Regions from separate parts of the Homo sapiens genome. Here all the other regions are linked to region 2. The links are contacts of gene promoters, found by promoter capture Hi-C in blood cells and fetal thymus (Javierre and others, 2016). All regions are on one chromosome and are shown on one strand. Each heading gives the region's core, a stretch centred on a gene start or on the middle of the fragment in contact. The rest is flanking DNA. Distances are from core to core; before and after follow the strand shown. Region 1 overlaps VPS37C (VPS37C subunit of ESCRT-I). Region 2 holds the start of CCDC86 (coiled-coil domain containing 86). Region 3 overlaps VWCE (von Willebrand factor C and EGF domains). Region 4 holds the start of DDB1 (damage specific DNA binding protein 1). Region 5 overlaps CD5 (CD5 molecule). Region 6 overlaps LOC124902678 (a long non-coding RNA gene). Region 7 overlaps DDB1 (damage specific DNA binding protein 1).

Evidence for each region. The method cuts DNA at HindIII sites, captures the fragments that hold promoters and counts their contacts. A CHiCAGO score of 5 or more calls a contact.
Region 1: a fragment that was not itself captured here is called in contact with the fragment with the promoter of CCDC86 in region 2 in 12 of 17 cell types (naive CD4 T cells, naive CD8 T cells, total CD4 T cells and 9 more); the score reaches 15.5 in naive CD4 T cells.
Region 3: a fragment that was not itself captured here is called in contact with the fragment with the promoter of CCDC86 in region 2 in 1 of 17 cell types (naive CD8 T cells); the score reaches 5.4 in naive CD8 T cells.
Region 4: a contact is called between the fragment with the promoter of DDB1 here and the fragment with the promoter of CCDC86 in region 2, in 6 of 17 cell types (naive CD4 T cells, non-activated CD4 T cells, total CD4 T cells and 3 more). The highest score is 13.5, in naive CD4 T cells.
Region 5: a fragment that was not itself captured here is called in contact with the fragment with the promoter of CCDC86 in region 2 in 9 of 17 cell types (naive CD4 T cells, total CD8 T cells, fetal thymus and 6 more); the score reaches 10.3 in naive CD4 T cells.
Region 6: a contact is called between a fragment that was not itself captured here and the fragment with the promoter of CCDC86 in region 2, in 6 of 17 cell types (total CD4 T cells, naive CD4 T cells, activated CD4 T cells and 3 more). The highest score is 10.0, in total CD4 T cells.
Region 7: a fragment that was not itself captured here is called in contact with the fragment with the promoter of CCDC86 in region 2 in 2 of 17 cell types (naive CD4 T cells and total CD4 T cells); the score reaches 6.2 in naive CD4 T cells.

The regions. Positions count from the first base shown.
Region 1 is chr11:61,153,935-61,156,932 of GRCh38, reverse strand. The region is part of intron 1 of VPS37C (VPS37C subunit of ESCRT-I); the gene reads left to right. Among named protein-coding and RNA genes, the nearest start is that of VPS37C, 6.0 kb to the left of the region's middle. The HindIII fragment of the contact is 5,088 bases long and covers 1-2,998 here.
Region 2 is chr11:60,840,811-60,843,693 of GRCh38, reverse strand. It overlaps CCDC86 (coiled-coil domain containing 86), which reads right to left and starts at 1,581. Exons shown (of 4, transcript NM_024098.4): 1 at 812-1,581. The coding sequence starts at 1,569. CCDC86-AS1 (CCDC86 antisense RNA 1) reads left to right here. Exons shown (of 2, transcript NR_182293.1): 2 at 1,714-1,888. RefSeq lists enhancers at 1,156-1,385, 1,292-2,491. The HindIII fragment of the contact is 9,112 bases long and covers 1-2,883 here.
Region 3 is chr11:61,261,694-61,264,769 of GRCh38, reverse strand. VWCE (von Willebrand factor C and EGF domains) reads left to right here. Exons shown (of 20, transcript NM_152718.2): 19 at 193-283. Among named protein-coding and RNA genes, the nearest start is that of PGA5, 22 kb to the right of the region's middle. The HindIII fragment of the contact is 9,219 bases long and covers 1-3,076 here.
Region 4 is chr11:61,331,665-61,334,663 of GRCh38, reverse strand. DDB1 (damage specific DNA binding protein 1) reads left to right here and starts at 1,559. Exons shown (of 27, transcript NM_001923.5): 1 at 1,559-1,756; 2 at 2,973-2,999. The coding sequence starts at 1,696. It overlaps TKFC (triokinase and FMN cyclase), which reads right to left and starts at 1,436. Exons shown (of 18, transcript NM_015533.4): 1 at 1,335-1,436; 2 at 1-44. RefSeq lists enhancers at 952-1,474, 1,475-1,997 and a silencer at 1,297-1,556. The HindIII fragment of the contact is 9,653 bases long and covers 1-2,401 here.
Region 5 is chr11:61,117,071-61,120,096 of GRCh38, reverse strand. It overlaps CD5 (CD5 molecule), which reads right to left. Exons shown (of 11, transcript NM_014207.4): 3 at 1,617-1,922; 4 at 1,120-1,182; 5 at 522-863. Among named protein-coding and RNA genes, the nearest start is that of CD5, 16 kb to the right of the region's middle. The HindIII fragment of the contact is 5,023 bases long and covers 1-3,026 here.
Region 6 is chr11:61,198,127-61,200,946 of GRCh38, reverse strand. It overlaps LOC124902678 (a long non-coding RNA gene), which reads right to left. Exons shown (of 4, transcript XR_007062691.1): 4 at 77-1,825. Among named protein-coding and RNA genes, the nearest start is that of PGA3, 4.0 kb to the left of the region's middle. The HindIII fragment of the contact is 4,291 bases long and covers 1-2,820 here.
Region 7 is chr11:61,312,405-61,315,321 of GRCh38, reverse strand. DDB1 (damage specific DNA binding protein 1) reads left to right here. Exons shown (of 27, transcript NM_001923.5): 13 at 836-1,014; 14 at 1,112-1,275; 15 at 1,353-1,460; 16 at 1,616-1,823. Among named protein-coding and RNA genes, the nearest start is that of VWCE, 19 kb to the right of the region's middle. The HindIII fragment of the contact is 4,082 bases long and covers 1-2,917 here.

The sequences.
Region 1 (2,998 bases), core at 229-2,728, 310 kb before region 2:
AAGTGGAATGGTGGTTGCCAGAAGACGGGAGAAAAGGAGAATGGGAAGTTAGTGCTTAATGGGTGCAGAATTTCAGTTTAGGGTGATGAAAATCTTCTGGAGAGGAATGGTGGTGATGGTTGTATGACAAAGTAAATGTACTTAATGTGAAAGAACTGTATACTTAAAAATGATTAAAATGGTAAATTTTGTTACGTATAAAACAGTTTTTAAAAATAGAGGATTTAAAAATTACGGTATATCTCTTAAAAAGTTTTTTACTTCTAAACAATTTGTGTCTTTATATTGAAAGTGGGCTTCTTGTAGGCAGCATATAGATGGGTGGTGTTTTTGTTTTTGTTTTTTTTTGAGACAGAGTCTCCTTCTGTTGCCCAGGCTGGAGTACAGTGGTGTGATCTTGACTCACTGCAACTGCCTCCTCCTGGGTTCAAATGATTCTCATGCCTCAGCTTCCTGAGAGCTGGGATTACAGGCGTGTGCCTACCATGCCCAGCTAATTTTTTGGTATTTTTAGTAGAGACGGGATTTCACCATGTTGGCTAGGCTGGTCTTGAACTCCTGACCTTAAGTTATCTACCCACCCCTCCCAAAGTGCTGGGTTTACAGGCGTGAACAACTGCACCTGGCCGGGGGTTGCTTTTTAATCCAATCTCACAAGCTGCATTTTAATTGGGGTGTTAAGACTATTTAGATTTAATGTGGTTATTGATATGGTTGAGTTTAAATCTACCTTCTTGCTATTTGTTTTCAATTTGTCCCATGTGCTTTGTTCCCTTTTTCCTTTTTTATGACTTCTTTGGGATCGAATAATTTTTATGATTCCACTTTGTTTCCTTTGTTGGTTCATTAATTCGAACACTTTTTAGTGGTTGCTTTAAGGTATATAGTATGCATCTTTAATTTGCTACAGCCTATCTTCAAGCGATATTATACCACTTTAGTGTAAGAATCTTGCAATAGTTTACTTTCATTTCCTTCCTCCTGGACTTTGTATTGTTGTCACCTGTTTTACTTCTACACGTGCCATAAATCCCACAACACATTGTTATTTTTGCTTTAAATAGTCAATTATTTTTTAAGGAGATGAAAATGTAAAGTTCTTTTATATTTACTTGTTCGTTTAACATTTTTGGTGCTCTTTATTCCTTCATGTAGATCCACATTTCTATCTTGTTTCATGTTCCTTCTGACTTGAGGACATCCTTTTAACATTTCTTGTGGTGCTGGTCTGTTAGTGATGGATTCTTTCAGCTTTTGGGTGTCTAGAGAAGTCTTTATTTTGGCTTTGTTTTTGGAAGGCATTTTCCCTGTATAGAATTCTGGATTAACTATTTTTTTTTTCAGTGCTTTAAAGATGTTCCAGTGTCTTTTGCTTGCATTGTTTCATATCAGTAGTCTGCTATTTTTCTTTCCTTTTTTCTTCTTGCTTTTTAAGAGGCAGAATCTCACTCTGTCATCCAGGCCAGAGTGCAGTGGCGTGATCATAGCTCACTGTGGCCTCAAACTTCTGGGCTCAAGTGATCCTCCCACCTCAGGGTCCCTAGTAGCTAAGACTACAGGTGTGTATCACCATGCCTGGGTAGTTGTTTTTTAATGATTATTCTTTATTTTTGTAGAGATAGGGTCTTGCTATGTTGCTCAGGCTGGTCTTGACTTCCTGGCCTCAAGTGATCCTACGGCATCAGCTTCCCAAAGTGATGAGATTACAAGCATGAGCCACCACACCTGGTCTGTTTATTTTTATTTTTTGCTCTTCTGTTTGTAATGTATCTTTTCTCCTTATAACTGCTTTTCTTTCTCCCTGTCCCCCCGCCTTTTTTTTTTTTTTGGAGACAGAGTCTCACTCTGTCATCCAGGCCAGAGTGCAGTGGCGTGATCATAGCTCACTGCAGCTTCAAACTTCTGGGCTCGAGGGATCCTCCCACTTCAGCCTCCCAAGTAGTTGGGACCACAGGTGTGTGCCACCATGCCAGGCAAATTTTTTATTTTTTGTAGAGACAGGGTCTCACTATGTTGCCCAGGGTGGTCGAAAACTCCTGGGCTCAAGCGATCCTCCCACCTCGGCCTTCCAAAGTGCTGAGATTGCAGGTGTGAGCCACTGTGCCTGGCCCTAACTGCTTTTCTAACTGAGTTTAAACAATGTAATGATGATGTGCTTTTGTGTAGTGTAATTTTCTTTGTGTGTTTTGTGCTTGGGTTCATTGAGTTTTTTGGATTTGTGGGTTTATAGCTTTCATCAGATTTGGAAATTTTTCAGTCAGTAACTCTGCAAATATTTTTTTTATTCCCTTTTCTCTTTCCTCTCTTTCGGGGACTCCAGTTACATGTATGTAAGGGTGCTAGAGGTTGCTCCATAGCTCTCTGATCATTCATTTTTCCCAGTAGTCCCTTTTTCTTTTCTCTCTGTGGTTTGTTCTGGTTAGTTTCTATTGCTCTTTCTTCAAATTCACTGGTCTCTTCTGCATTGTCTAATCTGCTGATATTACCTTTCAGTATACTTTTTATCACAGACATTGTAGTTTTCATCTCTAGAAGTTTGATTTGGGTCTTTTAAATATCTTCCCTGTCTCTAACATGCTTAATCTTTCTTTTAGCTTCTTGAACATATGGAATATAGTTTTAGGAACTGTTTTAATGTCCTTGCCTACTAATTCCATTATCTGTGTATTTTTTGGGTCTGTTTCTATTGCTTCCCTCATTATGAGTCTTATTTTCTTGATTCTTTGTATGTCTGGTAATTTTTATTGTATATCAGATGTTGTGAATTTTACCTTGTGGGGTGCTGGATATTTTTGTATTTCTAGAAATGTTCCTGGCATTGTTTTAGGACACTGTTAAGTTACTTGGGAACAGTTTGATTCTTTAAAGCTGCTCTCAAGGTTTGTTAGTTGGAATCAGAACAGCCTTAGGCCCAGGCCTGATTTTTCCTCACTACCAAGGCAATTCTGTCCTTAGTGCTTTACCAATGTCCTGTGAATGATGAGGTTTTTCCACTGTG
Region 2 (2,883 bases), core at 332-2,831:
CTACACTCTTCCTTCTTCAGATGAGCTACTTCGTTCCTTCATTAAATAAGCATTCATTGGGCATTTACTATGCCCTTGGCACAGAAAGACAAGAAAGATCTCGTGCCTGCCCCTTAAGAAGGTCGCAATCCAATTCAAGGTGGATCTACAGGGATTGGGTAAAGGGGTTTTTTGCACACAGGCTTCGGAATCAGATCTGTGCTCAGGTCCTGTGCCTACCACTCATTTAGCCTTGGTTTCCTCACACAAAAAACAGGAATAATAACACCGCCTGCTTCACAGGGCTGACGTGCAGATTAAGCGTGATGACACATGCTGTTCCATGTTTGAAAGGCTGTTGACTGGTAAATCCTTATTAAGGCTGTTGACTGGTAAATCCTTATATAATCAGTGCTCAGTAATACTTTTTATCTTAAAGGCAAATAACTGTAATAGACTATATTGGATGAAGACCTCACTGCTTTGATCAAGTAATGGCTGGTTTACTTGCTTCTGCTTCTCTCACTAGAGAGGGCAGACAACGGTAAATGTCTGTTGAACGAATACAGACCTGAGGTGCTACAGGAGAGGCCCATAGGGACCCTGAGGAGGAAAGGCATCAGAGAAATTGATCTTTGAGGGCCTGGCCCCACCCTCTCCGGGATCCCAGGGCATTTTACCACATTCTGATTGTAATTACCTGTTTGCTAACATCCCCACTAACGTGAGCTCTCTCTAACCCTGGGGCTATTCTCCAGGCTGCAGCAGGGCAAAGGCGGGGTCCCAACACCATAGAGAACGCCACCCCTGTCCATGCTGTCCCCCACTTCACCTTTTCTTGGAGCGGTCCTTCCACACTCGCCCCGATTTGGGCTTCCCCTTCGGGATTACAGGAAGCTCCTCTTTATTCAACTTCTTGGACGCTGGGGCCTGGGATGAAGAACCTTTTCGCTTCTTTGCCCCGAAGCCGCCTGTCACCGTCTCCCCAGCTGGAGGTGGCTTGCTCGGCTCATGCTGACCCCGGGGGGAGCCAGGTGCCCTGGGTGTCAGCTCCAGTAGTGGCTGAGAGGGCTCCGGACCGGGAGCTTGCTGACCGGGGTAAGGCTCTGGTGATCCTGGGACCGGCGGTAGCTGATGCTGGGGGGCCCCCGGGGTCAGCTCCTCCTTATTCTGGGCCAACTCCGAGGCCAGTACTCCCTGGTCCTGAGAACACTTTGGTGCCTCCTCACTTGGCTTCGGCTGACATCGTGGGGATTCAGGACTGTACTCTGGCTGTCTTTGAGGCGACTCCAGGTGTAGGTCTTGCTGACGCTGGGGGGACGCTGCGCCTGGCTCTGGCTGCCCTTGGGGTGACTCCAAGCCTGCACCCTGCTGCAGACGGGGTGATCCTGGGCTTGTCTTCGGCGGCCTTTCGGGGGACCCCAGGCCAGCCCGCTGCACACTCGGAGGAGACCCGGGCTCCCTCGTTTCTTCTGGGTTCGACTCGAACTCCACAAGGGCCCGTCTCGTCCGCGAAACTGAGGTGAGGCTCTCGGGGGATTCGGGCCTTAGGCCTCCCAGCCGTCGGCTGCGCCTTAACGGTGTATCCATGGCTCAGCCGGTAAGTTTCCACACCCCTGCGCACGTGCAGCCCCCGCCGAAACCGGCGCCTTCCTATGACGTCAGGAGTCGCCGCGTCCGTGACGCACAGGAGGGGGGCTGTTGCTGAGGCGGCCATGTTGGTGAGGGGTGGAGAGGCGGGACCGGGGTTGGGGAGAGTGGGGCTCAGCATGCGCATGCGCAATTCGCGCGAGCGCAGTCAACATGTGATTGATGAGCCAGTCTTTTTCCTGGGATTCGCTTTTGCCTTTCTTGCAAAGTTTCCTGGGGAAAGAAGAGCGAGCAAGTAGAAAAGGGAAAGTGGGAGGACCCATTTCAGGGAGAGAACAGAGTCGAAAAAAGGTCCGAGGAGCCCATAGGCAAGGCCCAGTGGATGTTTTGCAGCCAACTCCGGTGCAGTTGGGCAGAGTCCTGCCCTCCTTGGGCCTGTTTTCTCATTTGTAATAGGGGTCATTTTGCACTAGCTTCGTGCATCCCAAATGATCCTGTCAGAGTCCTCCTCCCACCTACCTGAGGGACTGCTACCTGGGGGTCCTGGAGGTGGAAGATCGGTCTTTTCTGTGTTAATTGTTCACACTCTTGATTCTTCCGTCCTGTGCTTCCGTATATAATCCATAGCTCTCCCTCCCTTTTCAGCGTTTTCAACGTTTGTGAGGGAAGTTGAGGTACCAATAAGATGCACCACCTTTGTCCTGTGGCTCACCTGGGCCCTCGACCAGCTGCATATCCTCCCACGTCCCTCTTCTTCTACCCCAGTTCTAGAAACGGGTTGGATCATCTCCGATCTTCCTTTCAGCCCAGACAGTGGTTTTTGCTCGTGTGTGAACCTGCTTCGCCTCCCCTCCCTTCCCTTGCTATTCACCTGTAAATGTACTTTGCTTACTAAGCACTTTGGGACCTCACCAGTGAGCAGGTGTTGACTTCTGGACCTCCCAAGGCCTAGAGAAGACTCTCGGGATGTGGGGTTGGGGAATGTGGGGCTGTGGAGACTTTCGTGTGAGACCTAGGAGTGGGGCTTTGATTTACTTACAGCATGCTTCTTAGGAAGAACATCTTGGAAGTGGCCCAGTTGTGTAATTCTTGGAACTGCCTGGGGTTGGCCATTAAAGGTCCCAGGGCCCCGTCTGACATTCCAGTGGTTTCTTTTAGAAACCATTGTTTCTCCAGCTGCGGGCTTGTGAGAGGGCCTGGGAAATTGTCCAAGAATATCAGGGATCAGAGTGTCCTCATCTTCCTCATGTTCCTGAGTCAAGGAGACCCCTGCAGGGGGGCTTTGCCTGCCTCACTGCTCCTCTCCGGCCATGC
Region 3 (3,076 bases), core at 63-2,562, 420 kb before region 2:
GAAGTGGTTTCCCAAAGGGGGTCCTGCCATAGCTGGCTTTACCTGTTCTCCAGGCGAGGGCTCAGGCACTGCAGCCTCTGTCCTGGGATCTTTCCGTGGGTCCTGCTGCTGGTGCAAGAGGCCCTTGAGGGCACTGCCCAGGGCAGGCAAGATGCTCTGGGCTTCCTCATGGGGTTCCTTCTGCTTCCCCAGCTGGGAGAGGTGAGCTGTGAGAAGGTTCCCTGCCAGCGGGCCTGTGCCGACCCTGCCCTGCTTCCTGGGGACTGCTGCTCTTCCTGTCCAGGTAAGTGGGTCTCTGGGTCCTGGAGTTTCTCCGCCATCTTCTTCCATTTTACTTTTCTTCCCCGGTACATAGAACTTGTAAAGGGCTGGATAAGAGAAAGCCATGTTCAGAGAGGGAACACGGCTCGCGCAAGGTTGTACAGCTGTGCTGTGGCCTGCTGACCCTCATCCCGTGCTCATGATGCCACACACCATGATGTCTGTTTATTTGCACTCCCTTTTTCTTCTTCTTCTGCTTTTTTTTTTTTTTTTTTTTTTTTTTGAGACTGAGTCTCCCTCTGTCACCCAGGCTGGAGTGCAATGGCGCTATCTCACCTCACTGCAAGCTCCGCCTCCCGGGTTCACGCCATTCTCCTGCCTCAGCCTCCGGAGTAGCTGGGACTACAGGTGCCTGCCACTACGCCTGGCTAATTTTTTTGTATTTTTAGTAGAGATGGGGTTTCACCGTGTTAGCCAGGATGGTCTCGATCTCCTCACCTCGTGATCCGCCCGCCTCAGCCTCCCAAAGTGCTGGGATTACAGGCGTGAGCCACTGCGCCCGGCCTGCACTCCCTTTTTCTTCTTTATCCCCTTTCTTAACCTCTTCCTATGCTTTCTTCTTTATTTTAAATTACAACATGGGAACTGAGTCCGTTTTGCAGAAGAGTAATCTCTAATATGTGTTGAGCACCCACGGTGTGCCGGGACACCTCATGTGTCTACACCCCTGCAATACTCTTGTCATCCTCCTGTGCCAGGTGAGAAAACAGGCCCAGGCAGGTGAAGTGCTGTGCTCAAGATCACATAGCTGATTGGTAGTAGAGCCAGGGTTTCAGACTGGAGTCGATGCTTTTAGATAGGACAGTGGATTGATTCCCAAGAACTGACGCCACTGAACTCCAGCCTGGGCCACAGAGAGACACTGTCTCTAAACAACACAAAACACAACACAACACATATTTCTCCTGTCTAGCTGAGATTGTGTACCCTTTGACAATCATCTCCCCATTCCCCTCGCCCCTGCCAGCCTTCGTAACCACGATTCTATTCTCTGCTTCTTTGGCTTCAACCTTTTTAGATTCCACATAAAACTGAGATTTTGCAATAGTTGTCTTTGTGTGTCTGGCTTATTTCGCTTAGCATAATGTCCTCCAGTTTCATCCATGTTGTTGCAAATGACAGAATTTCCTTTTTTTTTTTTTTTTGAGGATTCTCACTCTGTCACCCAGGCTGGAGTGCAGTGGCGCGATCTCAGCTCACTGCAACCTTTGCCTCCCAGGTTCAAGTGGTTCTCTTGCCTCAGCCTCCTGAGTAGCTGGGATTATAGGCGCACACCACCATGCCCGGCTAATTTTTGTATTTTTAGTAGAGACAAGGTTTCGCCATGTTCGTCAGGCTGTTCTCGAACTTCTGACCTCAAGTGATCCACCCACCTCGGCCTCCCAAGGCACTGGGATTACAGGCGTGAGCCTGTAATTTCCTTCTTTTAAAAGGCTAAATAGTATTCCATTCTGGATAAAGAAATGTGGTATATGCACACAATGAAGTACTATTGATGGATGCTTAGGTTGGTTCCATAGCTTGGCTATTGTGAATAGTGTCACAGTGAACACAGGACTGCAGCTCTCTTCCCCAAACTGACTTTAAATCTTTTGGATAAATACTCAGCAGTGGGATTGCTGGATCTATTTTATGTTTTTTAAACTTCTAGGAAGACAGGGAATTTTTTTCACTGATGGTGGCCTGAATTCCCTTTTTTATAAAATATTTGTTTAACTCCTTTGACCTTTTGAAGAGTATGTTCTGTTTTCGGGGGCAGCTCTTCAGATCTGTGGATGATGAGCTTTTAGGGCGGGTGGCGCCAGGAATATCCATTGAGCCTTCAAATCCATCATGTTGGGGACATTATAGATTGTACTTCATTGTAACCACCACAAACCTCTCTGCATGCTAGTGGATATTAGTCCCCTGACTGTCTAGAGACTGATTGCTAGCTAATGTGCCAGGCAGCATACTGAGCATTTTATACCTTATTTAAATGTATTACCTCATTTAAATGTTCATGGAGTGTTCCAGCGTGGCTGCTATGTTATCTCCATTTTGCAGGTGGGGAAATGGAGGCTCAAAGAAGTTAAGTTTCTAGTTGGTGTGTAAGACTTAAGCCTAGGTCTCTCTTATTTCCTATCCTGTCCTCTTTCCCACCGTGCCCTCCTACCTCCACCTGGGGAAACTGAGACCCAAAGAGGTGACCTCCAGGTCTGGCGTGGTGGCTCACGCCTGTAATCCCAGCACTTTGGGAGGCTGATGTGGGTGGATCGCCTGAGGCCAGGAGTTTGAGACCAGCCTGTCCAACATGGTGAAACCCTGTCTCTACTAAAAATAGAAAAATTAGCCGGGCATGTTGGTGCACACCTGTAATCTCAGCTATTTGGGAGGCTGAGGCAGGAGAATTGCTTGAACCTGGGAGATGGAGGTTGCAGTGAGCTGAGACTGCGCCCTGCCCTCCAGCCTGGGCAACAGAGCAAGACTCTGTCTCAAACAAAAACAAAAACCAAGAGGTAACCTCCAGAGCCCAGCTCCTTCTCCTGAAGCACACTATGTTTACCACCTACCTCTTATTAACAAGAGCTCCCTTTAAGGAAAAACAACTTTTTATTGAAGTAGAATATGAATTGCTTTCTTTTGATGATTTTTTTTTTTTTTTGAGACAGGGTCTCACTCTGTTGCCCAGGCTGGAGTGCAGTGGTGCGATCACAGCTCACTGCAGCCTCGACCCCTGGGCTCAAGCAATCCTCCTACTTCAGTCTCACAGGTA
Region 4 (2,999 bases), core at 310-2,809, 490 kb before region 2:
CCTGTGCTACCTGGGTCTGAGTACAGTGGAGGCAGCAGCAGCACCTGCAGGAGTGGGTAACGATACAAGCTGCGGAAGGAACTCGCAGTCGACTGGCACAATCACGCCTTCAGCACCCTAGTAATTAGGGAGCTGCCCCAGACTTCGGTCCAAGTCCAAACTCTAGTACATGGGCTACGGATGGAGAAGAGTGTGGGGCTGACCAAGGTTCATGCCTGCACTTCACTGCCAGAAGACAGATCAATCCATGTCAAGCACAGGTCTGCCTTTATGTCCAGGAACAGCACCCACTTCATCACTAAAGGACAGTGATCCTCAGAATAACTATCTTTTACACGGGCATCACATGCAGCGAAAAAGTTAACAAAGCTCGTCACACGCTTGCCCTCACTGGCCTTGGCACCAAAAGGGAAGGGAATGGGGGGAGCTAGCCAGGTTTGTGACCCATTTTACTTCTGGGAAACAGACTCAGAGAGCTCTAGGGACTTGTCCAAGGTAATACAGGTAACAGCCAGAATCTAAACCAATGTCTAGTTTTTCTACAGAGTGTGTTTTTACTACTGATAATTCAGTGCCTCCAAAGTCAGGCAGAGTCTCTGCTATGGGAAAGGCAAGATGTAAACCACGATGACTTTCTAGCTTTTCCTCAGTTCAGCCTGGTTCAGCAGCGTGTTGGCCTCTGTGTGGGTGCACAATAGGAAGAATCAACATAGCTCTGCCTCAGCCTACTTGGGGTTGTGGGGAGGGTCTTAGGTAAACCAATTCCTCCCTAAGCCTCAGCTTCCTCATCTGTAAAATGGGGGTTGGCTCCTCTCTGGCATTCTGCGAGTGTGCCAAGCCACGTGGTATTCCTCTTGTTCCCGGGGAGCCTGTTTGATGTGGGGTACCCTGGAGGCTGCAGGGCTGACGGCTCTCCTGGCTCATTAAGGTTCCCTACGGAGAAATACTGGTTTTGTGTTTGAGGTTCGAATTTGTAGAGCAATAGGGGCACTAATAACGTTGGGCAAGCAGACCGGTGGGCCCTTTGAAGTCTGAAGAATCAACGCGCAAAAGGGAGGAGGTGAGCAGGTGGTCGTTCAAACGTCAGGCGAGGGCACCAGCTGGATCTGGAGGAACTGAGACAGTGAAAGGAAAGCAGGCAAGGTTCTAGTCTGGGATATGCACGAATCGCGGTCTCCCTTCCCTCTCTATGCCTCCGCAGTCCTTCCCGTTCCCAAAGGAGGAACAGCCCGAGGGCTCCTGGAGCAACGGAAGGAGGACTGGATGCGGGGAAGGGCAAAGGGCGCGGAACGGGGTGGGGAGTCTGCGGGCGAGCTCGGAGGACACTGGCGCACCTCCCCCGCCGGCTCACGGCCGCATCCGCCACATCCGAAGGCGCCGCGACTTCCCGGAGACCCCGAAGCGTGCGCTCTCATCCGGGTCCTGCGGGCGCTGGCGGAAAGAGGCGAGGCGGTGCCTCCGGGGGCGGGGCCTCCTTCGGTTGGCGGCCTCGGGCTTCGGGAGTCCTCCAAGAGGCCAGGTGAGGCCGTCCCGTGATGCCCCGCGCCCCGGCCGCTCTGGCCTGCAACGTGTCTCTGGGGCGGAGGCAGCGGCAGTGGAGTTCGCTGCGCGCTGTTGGGGGCCACCTGTCTTTTCGCTTGTGTCCCTCTTTCTAGTGTCGCGCTCGAGTCCCGACGGGCCGCTCCAAGCCTCGACATGTCGTACAACTACGTGGTAACGGCCCAGAAGCCCACCGCCGTGAACGGCTGCGTGACCGGTGAGGCTGCCGGGGCCGGAGACCCCGGCGAGTGAGGGAGTTGGGGGGAGCCGCGGCCTAGGGAGGCCCGCCGCCCCGGGGGCGGCCGGGCAGGAGTGGGCCCGGCGAATGGAAGGCGCTGGCGGCCGAGGAACCTCCCCCAGCACCGCGACCTCGAAAGAGTCGTCCCTGTACGCGCTTTTTGGGGGTTGGAAGCCGCTCTCGAGGGTCCCCTTTCGTCCTGGGGAGGTCATTCGGCCTCGAGAACAGGGCGGGCCCAGTGAGACAGAGGAGTGTGAGTTGGTTGTGCGGTGTCGTTTGGGCCCGGAGATTGGCTTTCTGTGGCCAGGAAAAGGGGAGGTGGTAATGACGACTTTGGGGTCAAGATTTTCCTGTGGGGAAGTCTGGGGGGCCCAGGAGGTGGAGGGATGTGAGGAATGCCCGCATTATCCCACAGAGGGAGAGGAGCCCTCTTCAGGCTAACCCCTTTGCCTGGGGCTGTTGTTTACATGAGGGCCCTGCTGGAGAAGAGGGTTTGGTTTGCCTGGCCCAGTGCTGGGTTTGCCTTGTTGACGATGCGCTTGGATTGTTAAGGACACCGATGTTCAGAACCCGGGAAGAGTCATCTTAACCCACATTCTCAGCTGAATATGCAGACCCCAAGCTTGCATGTTTATATACACCCTAATCATGATTCCAAAACAAAACTGTTGTTCAGAGTTGGAGGTAGCTGAGTGTGGATGGAGGTATTGGTAGACTGCCAGGAGGGCAGGGGGTGTGGACAAAACAGTGTTTTCATATAAAGCTCTGGGACTTCTTCATTTGACTTGGTCTGTCAGATAAAAGTTTTGTGAGACTTTAGATGAAGACTGGAAGAAGTGAACACTTTCTCCGGCATTCTCAATTAGAGCCTGCCACTGTAACTGTAATAGAGTAAAATTGGAGGGGCAAGAGGCATGAGAAGGGATTACGCAGTCATTGTCATTTGGAGGACACACGGCTCTTAGGTCCAGTCCAGTTTTCTTAGTCTGATTAGGGAAGTAGCTTTGTTGAATGCATGAACTGAGACTCTTTGAGGTGCCGGATTTGGCAAGAAGGGGAGTAGCTGGAGGGAGTTGGAGAAGTATGTGAAGTAAATGAGAATTCTGGAGGTATTTAGACATAAGTGATAGGATTATTTTGAAGGGATGGGAGGCCCTTCCCCTGAGTTCAAAAGTTAGAGGGTCTGTTCTTTCAGGACACTTTACTTCGGCCGAAGACTTAA
Region 5 (3,026 bases), core at 466-2,965, 280 kb before region 2:
CCTCTGCAGAGCCCTCTTGGGGGCTGTCTCTGTTTCTCTCTTTGCCTGCTGTCCTCTGACTCCCGGGCCTCAGGGACCTCCCACCTCTCACCATTGCTGCAATGCCAACTCTTGGGATTTACAAATGCCCTTCCTGCAAGGCCCACCCCTCCAAGTGCCCCATCTTTGGCACAAGCCATAATTCCTACCTAGACATTTTTTTTTCTCCCCCAGACCCACGAAGAGACCTTGCCTCCTCCTGGAAGTCCTGCCGACTCCCCTTCCCCATGTGGCAGCTGAGCCAGCGGTTCCTTTGGGCTTGGGGTGTGTAGCTTTGCAGAGATTACCAAGGCATTGAGTGTGGATGCATCCTCCCCACCCCAACCCTTGTTACCTCTTAGAGGCCAAGACCAGGCCTCCACTTCCCTTGTATTCTCCATAGTGCCCTGTGCTGCACACATGTTCCCTGACCTTCTGGGATGCTCTGTGACCCCACCTAGGGCAGCAGAAGGTGTCATGGGGCTTGGCCAGGTCTCACTTACCTGAGCAAAGGAGGGCAAGAACTCGGCCACTTTTCTGGGGCTTGATTTTCCTGAAGCAATGCTCCAGGGAGGTACAGCTTGAGTTCTGGATCTTCCATTGGATTGGCAAGGGCTGGTGTTCCCGTGGCTCCCCTGGGTCTTGGGCTCTGCCTGCCTCAGTCTCTGGCAGATGCTTCAAGAAGGAGCCACACTGGAGGTTGTTGCAGAGGAAGTTCTCCAGGTCCTGGGTCTTGTCCTGGGCCTCATAGCTGATGGTACCCCCCAGGCTGCCGCTGTAGAACTCCACCACGCCGGCACAGTGCTGGCCGCCAGACTGTGCCACCAGCTGCAGCCTGGGAGGAGCTAGGAGAGGAGAGAGCAGGAGGGGGAGCCACCCTGAGCGCCGAGGGCTTCCTGGGCACTCCTTGCTGTTTGGCCCCAACTTGTGGACAACTACTGACTAACGCTTAGCCTTGGGAGGTGATGGGGTCCCAAATATTGCGTAGAACACACCAATACTAAACATTTCCACCTTTGTCAGAAATTCCAATGTAACTGGGCATCCTGGGTTTTTATTTGCTAGCTCTGACTCCCTGTGGGGGGTTCAGAATCCTCTTACCTGTGGGCTCTGGAGTTGTGGTGGGCGGGGGCCTTGTCGTTGGAGGTGTTGTCTTCTGGGGTTCTGCAATGAGACACTCTGGTGAGGGAGGAATGGGTGGTGTGGGGAGGGCCGGGGGCAGCCAGCAGCCTTGAGAGGACCAGGAGCTCCTGGCATGAGTGCCGCTTGGCACACCAGGTCCACTTGACCCACACGTTGTCTCTAAGCCTCCTGCGAGGCGGGAAGTACCACCCCACTTCACAGATGGGAGAATGGAGGTTCAGAGGCGACGATGAAGTCAGTGATTGGCAGAACTAGGTCCTCCATTGCCATCCTACAGATGGGTGCTGGCCCCTTCCAGTCCCCCTCCTGGGTATGTGTCTTGGGGAGTGGTTATAAACTGGGGTCCCCCCACCCCTTCCACCAGCCTGCTCAGACCCTAGATCACAGGCCTCGGGCAGTCTCCTCGGGGCTGGCGCCCAGGCCCAGGGTGCCCGTGTGGCTGGCTAGTTACCCACCTAAGCAGGTCAGGCCCAGAGAGTGACACATGTCATTTCTGCTGTGGCTGCAGTTGGAGAAGGAGCCCAGTTGTCCGTAGCAGATGATTGAGCTCTGAGGTGTGTAGGTGACAAGGAAGGGGCCAAGGCTTAAGGGCACCCCACAGTTCAGCCGCTGGCAGACTTTTGACGCTTGACTGGGGTCCTCCCACTGCTTGGAGCTCCGGCCCCAGCTCTGGCTGCAAACCATGTGCCATCCGTCCTTGAGGTAGACCTCCAGCTGGCCCTGGCACTTCGAGTTGGAACGGGTGAGCCTTGCCTGGAAATCTGGGGGTCAGAAAGGTGTGGTGGGGGTCAGGCTGGGAGGGGTTCCCCACTGGCACCCCTCACTGCCCTCTCCCTAGGACGCCCAGTTGAGCTCCCTCCTGCCCCGTGGGCTGCCTGCCTTGCCCCTTGTGAGCTTCGTCCCTTCTGGGGCACTGCAGGGGCTTCCCAGAGGACCCTGACCCAGGCAGCCCCGAAGCTAGACCCAGGAGGGTGGGGCTCCAGATTTCAGAGTCAGAAGGGAGCTCAGATAAATGGGCAAGGTGTTCTCGGCACCCACTGTCCAGCAGGATGGCCCCTGTCCTGGAAATTCTGTCTCAAGGGGTCTGAGATTGGGGCTGGTGTCTGCTTTTTAAGAGATCTTTAAAAATTAATTTTAGGCCAGGTGTGGTGGCTCATGCCTGTAATCCCAGCACTTTGGGAAGCTGAGGCGGGCAGATCACCTGAGGTCAGGAGTTTGAGACCAGCCTGGCCAACATGGTGAAACCCCATCTCTACTAAAAAAAGAAAAAATACCAAAAATTAGCTGGGTGTGGTGGCAGGCGCCTGTAATCCTAGCTACTCGGGAGGCTGAGGCAGGAGAATTGCTTGAACCCGGGAGGCAGAGGTTGCAGTGAGCCAAGATCGCGCCACTGCACTCCAGCCTGGGTAACAGATCAAGATTCCATCTCAAAAAAAAAAAATTTTATTGAGGTAATTTTACATACAGTGAAATGCACTCATTTTAAGGATACTGTTCGATGGAATTTGACAAATGTATACATGCATGTAACCACCACCATAATCTAGATATGGAACATTTCCATCATCTAGAAAGTTCCCTAAGGCCCCTTTATAGTTAATTTCCCTGAATCTAGCCTCAGGCAAACACTGATCTGCTTTTTGTCACAAAAGATGAGTTTTGCCTGTGCTACAATGTCATAGACATGGACTCATACAGCATGGATTTTATTTTGTTTGATTTGGCTTTTTTCGCTTAGCATGTATTTGAGATTTAGCTATGTCACTGGACGCATAAGTAGTTCATTCCTTTTTATTGCCGAATGATAGTTCACTACACGGACATGCCAATTTGTTTTCCATTCACCATTTGATTTGTTTCCGGGT
Region 6 (2,820 bases), core at 110-2,609, 360 kb before region 2:
GGTAGAAAACACATTGACATTACAGACTCCCCTGTTAGTTGACATCTTTGTGCCCCAAATGTGAATCCTGGGCCCATTTTCTTTTGTTTTCTTTTCTTTTTTTTTAACTGTGAATCTCACTCCAGTATGACTAGCCCTTGTATTTTCCACGTTCATGTCTTCTGGTGCCTCCTTCTCTTCCTCTTTCTTTCCTCCCTCTCAAGCCTCTCTCTCTGTTTTATGAGACAGGGTCTTATTCTGTCACTCAGGGTAGAGCGTAGTGGGGTGATCATGGCTTACTGCAGCCTCAGCCTCCCACGCTCAATTAGTCCTCTGGCCTCAGGCTCTGAGTAGCTGGGATGAAAGGCATGAGCCACTACACCGAGCTAACTTTTGTATTTTCTGTAGAGACAGGGCTTCACTATGTGGCCCAGGCTGGTTTCGAACTCCTGGGCTCAAGCGATCTTCCTGCCTCAGCTTCTCAAAGTGCTGGGATTACAGTGAACCACACTGCACCTGGCCCTCTCTCTCTTTATGGATACATAATATTTTACATATTTTTTTTGGGTACATGTGATATTCTGTTACAGGCATAGAAAGAGTAATGATGAAGTCAGGGTATTTGGAGTATCCATCACCTAAGTATGGGTTGATCCTAGCACTCATGTGAAGAACCTGATGGTCCTGAAGATGCTGCCTAAGTTCTGGGGGCACCAGATGGAATCCCCTCACTCAAGGCTGCCACCAGATGGAAGGGAGGGAGCTTGGAGCCCAAGGATGGGCACTGATTTTGGGGGCACAGTTTGTCTGGGGCCCACATGGGAATTTTGAGCAGAGAAGTATATTTGGGAAGCAGAAGGAAGATTCCCCAGGCAGAAACCTGCAAGCCCCTTTACACATTCATTCAAATGCCTTATTGTGCACTTGCTGTGTACCGTGCAGGGATGCTCTAGCTGCAGAGGGTACATCCCTGAGCATGGTAGGACTAGGCCGTGCCTTTGGCGCATTTGTGGTCAGTTGAAGGGAAAGCTGGTGTGGAAGGGGCTCTTCCTTTCCACCTGGATGGATATTTGGATCACATTGAGGGGAAGCTCTCAGATTGGTGAAGATGATAATGTTTCTCCACATTAGAGATTTTAGCACCCTGAGGGACGCTGGCATGCTTGCTGACACCAATTCAGGGGTATGGCAGAGAGACTGTAGGATGGCCCCCAATTATTCATGCTGCTGGTGTTCACATCCCTGCGTAATCCCCTCCCCTTTTGTGTAGGCAGGACTTGCTTCTAGCCAACAGGATACAGCAAAGTAGATGGGATGTTGCTTTTGCGATGACATTATACAGGCTTGTAGCTTGTGTCTTGCTAGCACACTGTCTGTATAGACTCTTCCTCTTGCTGGCTCTGATAAAGAAAGCTGCCCTATAAAGAGGCCCAAGGGGAAGGACCCAAGGGTGGCCTCCAGCTGACAGCCAGCAAGGAACTCAGGCCTTCAGTGTGACAATCTACAAGTAACTGAATCCTGCCAGCAAGCGTGTGAGCATGGAAGCAGATCCTTCTCTAGTCAAGCCTCAGATGAGACCACAGACCAGGCTGACATCCCTGACTGACAGAGGCCTCAGCTGTACCGAGCCTGGATTCCTGACCCACAGAAACAGTGAGATAGTGAGTCAGTGTGAGTTGTTGTAAGTCATTCAGTGTGTGTTAACTTGTCATCAGCAATAGAAAGCAGGACTGGAAACCTCTTGAAAACTCCAAAAAGATCCACCTGGTTGCCTCTTGCTCTTCCCTCTTTTGGGACCATTTCAGTGCTCTGCTAGGTGGTTTTCTGCTCAGGCAATATGAGTGATCTGAAAAGGGAGAAGGTGACGTTGTTGGTCAGGTCATCTGCAAACCTCCCTCAACATAGTAGTGCTTACATTTGTGTGCCTATTTGTGCTTTTCTGAATGCTTTGAATTATTTTAAAAAGAATTATTAAACTATTACTCCCACTTTTTCCCAACGGACATAGCTCAGAGGGGTTAAGTGATCAGTGCAGGTTCACATAACTAAGTAATGACACAGATGGGACCTGAACCTGGGTCTCAGGAGGCTCTGGTCCCTGGCCAGACTATGTGACTATGTACATCCACCTGGTTTCTGCTCATGGGTTAGTGTGTGACAGGAACATTCCATGATGGCTGCAGCCTCCATCCCAGGGGCACTTGGAGAAGCCATTCCACTCAGCCCCCTTGACCAGAAGAACCCTTGGGATGGAAAAGGGAATCCTGATTCTGCAACTACGTGCTCCCATGAGATCTGATTTTCAGCCAGGGCTGATCCGTGGCTGCCAGCAAGGAAGCCACATCATCTCATTGTACTAGACTGGCCCGGCTGAAAGATTAGACAACAACGTTTACTTTGCCATTAGCCCTGCCTGGCACTCAGTATGGTATTGCCTGGCTTTCAGGGGCACTGGTAGCAGTGTCTCCGATGCAGGGCAGCCCCTGCCAAGGGCACAGGTGTTCATAAATATTCCATGAACCAATCAAATCAAGCAATGGAATGAGATCTAAGGAACCTAGTCACGGCAAGCCTGAGACAGAGCACTTAAGCATGATAAATGTTATCGAGCTGGTCTGATAGGCATTGGGGCAGCTGGTCCCCTCGCAGTTTTCAATCAAGGTCTCACCCCAGGGACAGGATCTTCCAACACCAAAGAGAACATTGTGTTTTCCACTCCCCAGTCCCAGACCTGGGCTGCTTCTCCAGAGATGCCCGCAGGTTTTAAAAGTTAAATTGATGATAACTTTTTTGGCTCAAGTATAGAAGTAATACATTATCATTGTAGATTATTTATAGGTA
Region 7 (2,917 bases), core at 299-2,798, 470 kb before region 2:
TGAATAGATAACAGTGTCACCAACCTACTTCCTGTTTTATTTCAGTGATAAATTTATACAATATATTTCTATACAATTTTGTAATCTTTACTAAGGAACTTTAAATAATTTAAATGGCTCATACACAGTAAAGAACTTAGATATTTTAGAGGTCTGATTTGGGGGTTGAGAAAAACTGCTAAGACTGGTGGTCACAGTCAACATGGTGGCTCACGCCTGTAATCCCAGCACTTTGGGAGGCCAAGGCAGGTGGATCATGAGGTCAGGAGTTCAAGATCAGCCTGGCCAACATGGTGAAACCCCATCTCTACTCAAAAAACAAAAGTTAACCAGGCATGGTGGCATGCGCCTGTAATCGCAGCTACTTGGGAGGCTGAGGCAGGAGAATGGCTTGAACCTGGGAGGCGTAGGTTGTGGTGAGCTGAGATTGCACCACTGCACTCCAGCCTGGGCAACAGAGAGAGACTCTGTCCCAAAAAAAAAAAAAAAAAAAAAAAAGCCAAAAAACTGGTGGTCACAGGGTCTTACTCTATTCATATCTTCCCACAGGATGCAGTTTGTATTACCCAAGTAAGTCTCAATTAGAATGAAATAGGCCTTTTCCCCACCAGCTGTAGGTTTGTAAGCTGTAAGCTACTTTTAAGCTGGCCTCCTTCAGGCATTCATGCAAAAATGACATCTATTGTAATCATTAGCAGGACTTTGGGGAATAAGAAATAGAAGCCTCATGTAGCTTATTCGTAGGGCTCTATTAGGGCTGCATTTACCACCTTTCCACTCCTGTGTGGACCCTGGCAGATGCTTGGAGACATTTGTTCATCTGCTGTTTATCTAGATCACTTCAGCATCGGTGAGGTTGGTCTCTCAAGAACCCAAAGCTCTGGTCAGTGAATGGAAGGAGCCTCAGGCCAAGAACATCAGTGTGGCCTCCTGCAATAGCAGCCAGGTGGTGGTGGCTGTAGGCAGGGCCCTCTACTATCTGCAGATCCATCCTCAGGAGCTCCGGCAGATCAGGTGTGTGTGTTTTTCTGTCTGCTCGCTTTCCTCCTCTTTTCTCTAGGACTTCTTTGAGCCTTGGATTCCTTCCTCTGCCATATTCTTCTTTGTTCAGCCACACAGAGATGGAACATGAAGTGGCTTGCTTGGACATCACCCCATTAGGAGACAGCAATGGACTGTCCCCTCTTTGTGCCATTGGCCTCTGGACGGACATCTCGGCTCGTATCTTGAAGTTGCCCTCTTTTGAACTACTGCACAAGGAGATGCTGGGTGGAGGTATGTGTCATTTAGGGACCTGGGTTGGGACAGAGTCAAAATGTGGAACAAGAACATAATGTCCCCCTTTCTCACAGAGATCATTCCTCGCTCCATCCTGATGACCACCTTTGAGAGTAGCCATTACCTCCTTTGTGCCTTGGGAGATGGAGCGCTTTTCTACTTTGGGCTCAACATTGAGACAGGTGAGAGTAGTATTTTGAGTGAGGGACTCTTTCAAAAATAGAGTATTAGAATTACACAGAATTCTTAGTCCCAGGGTTCTGCTTTTGAACTTTCACAGGCCAGCTTTTTGTCCTGTTTTCTTTCTTCCTTTCTCCTGATGTCATTCTCTCTGTAGGTCTGTTGAGCGACCGTAAGAAGGTGACTTTGGGCACCCAGCCCACCGTATTGAGGACTTTTCGTTCTCTTTCTACCACCAACGTCTTTGCTTGTTCTGACCGCCCCACTGTCATCTATAGCAGCAACCACAAATTGGTCTTCTCAAATGTCAACCTCAAGGAAGTGAACTACATGTGTCCCCTCAATTCAGATGGCTATCCTGACAGGTGAGTCTCTTTTTCCTTATTTAATGAGAGCTATTGATTGAGGGGGTCATGATGTTTTCCTCAAACCCTTACCTCAAAGCCTTTTTCCGGTGTCAAAATCATAACTGAGATGGGAAGTATAGTGCAGAGGTTCTCAAAACTGGCTACCCAATAGAAACACTTGGGAAGTTTTTTAAAACTACAGGATTTTTGGAATCCTCAGTGGGTCTGAGGTTGAGCTCTGGAATCTGTATTTTCAGAAAACTTATCAGGTGATTCAGATGACTGTTTCATAATCCCTAATTTAGAGATCATTTTGTGTCCCTCTAGAGCAGGAATTCTCAAAGGGTGTCCCCAACCAGCAGCTACAGCATTACTTGGGAACTTGTTAGAAATGCAGATTCTCTGGCTGGGCATGGTGGCTCACACCTGTAGTCCCGGCACTTTGGGAGGCCGAGGCAGGAGGATCATTTGAAGTCAGGAGTTTGAGACCAGCCTGGCCAACATGGTGAAACCTTGTCTCTAATAAAAATACAAAAATTAGCCAGGTATGGTGGTGTGTGCCTGTAATCCCAGCTACTTGGGAGGCTGAGGCAGGAGATTCCCTTGAAATTGGAAGGTTGCTGGGTGCAGTGGCTCATGCCTGTAATCCTAGCTCTTTGGGAGGCTGAGGTGGGTGGATCACCGGAGGTCAGGAGCTCGAGACCAGTCTGGCCGACATGGCGAAACCCCATCTCTACTAAAAATACAAAAGTTAGCCGGGTGTGGTGGCAGGCACCTGTAATCCCAGCTACTCAGGAGGCTGAGGCAGGAGAATCACTTGAACCCAGGAGGCAGAGTTTTCAGTGAGCCAAGATCCCACCATTGCGCTCCAGCCTGGTGACAAGAAAAAAAACTGTCTTAAAAAAAAAGAAACTGGGAGGTGGAGGTTGCAGTGAGCTTAGATTTCACCGCTGCACTCCAGCCTGAATAACAGAGCTGAGACTCTGTCTCAAAAAAAAAAAAAAAAAAAAGAGAGAGAGAGAGAGGAAAGAAAAGAAAGAAATGCAGATGCTCAAGCCCCACCCTGACTCACAGAATCAGAAACTCTGGGAGGGGGCCCAGCAGACTGTTTT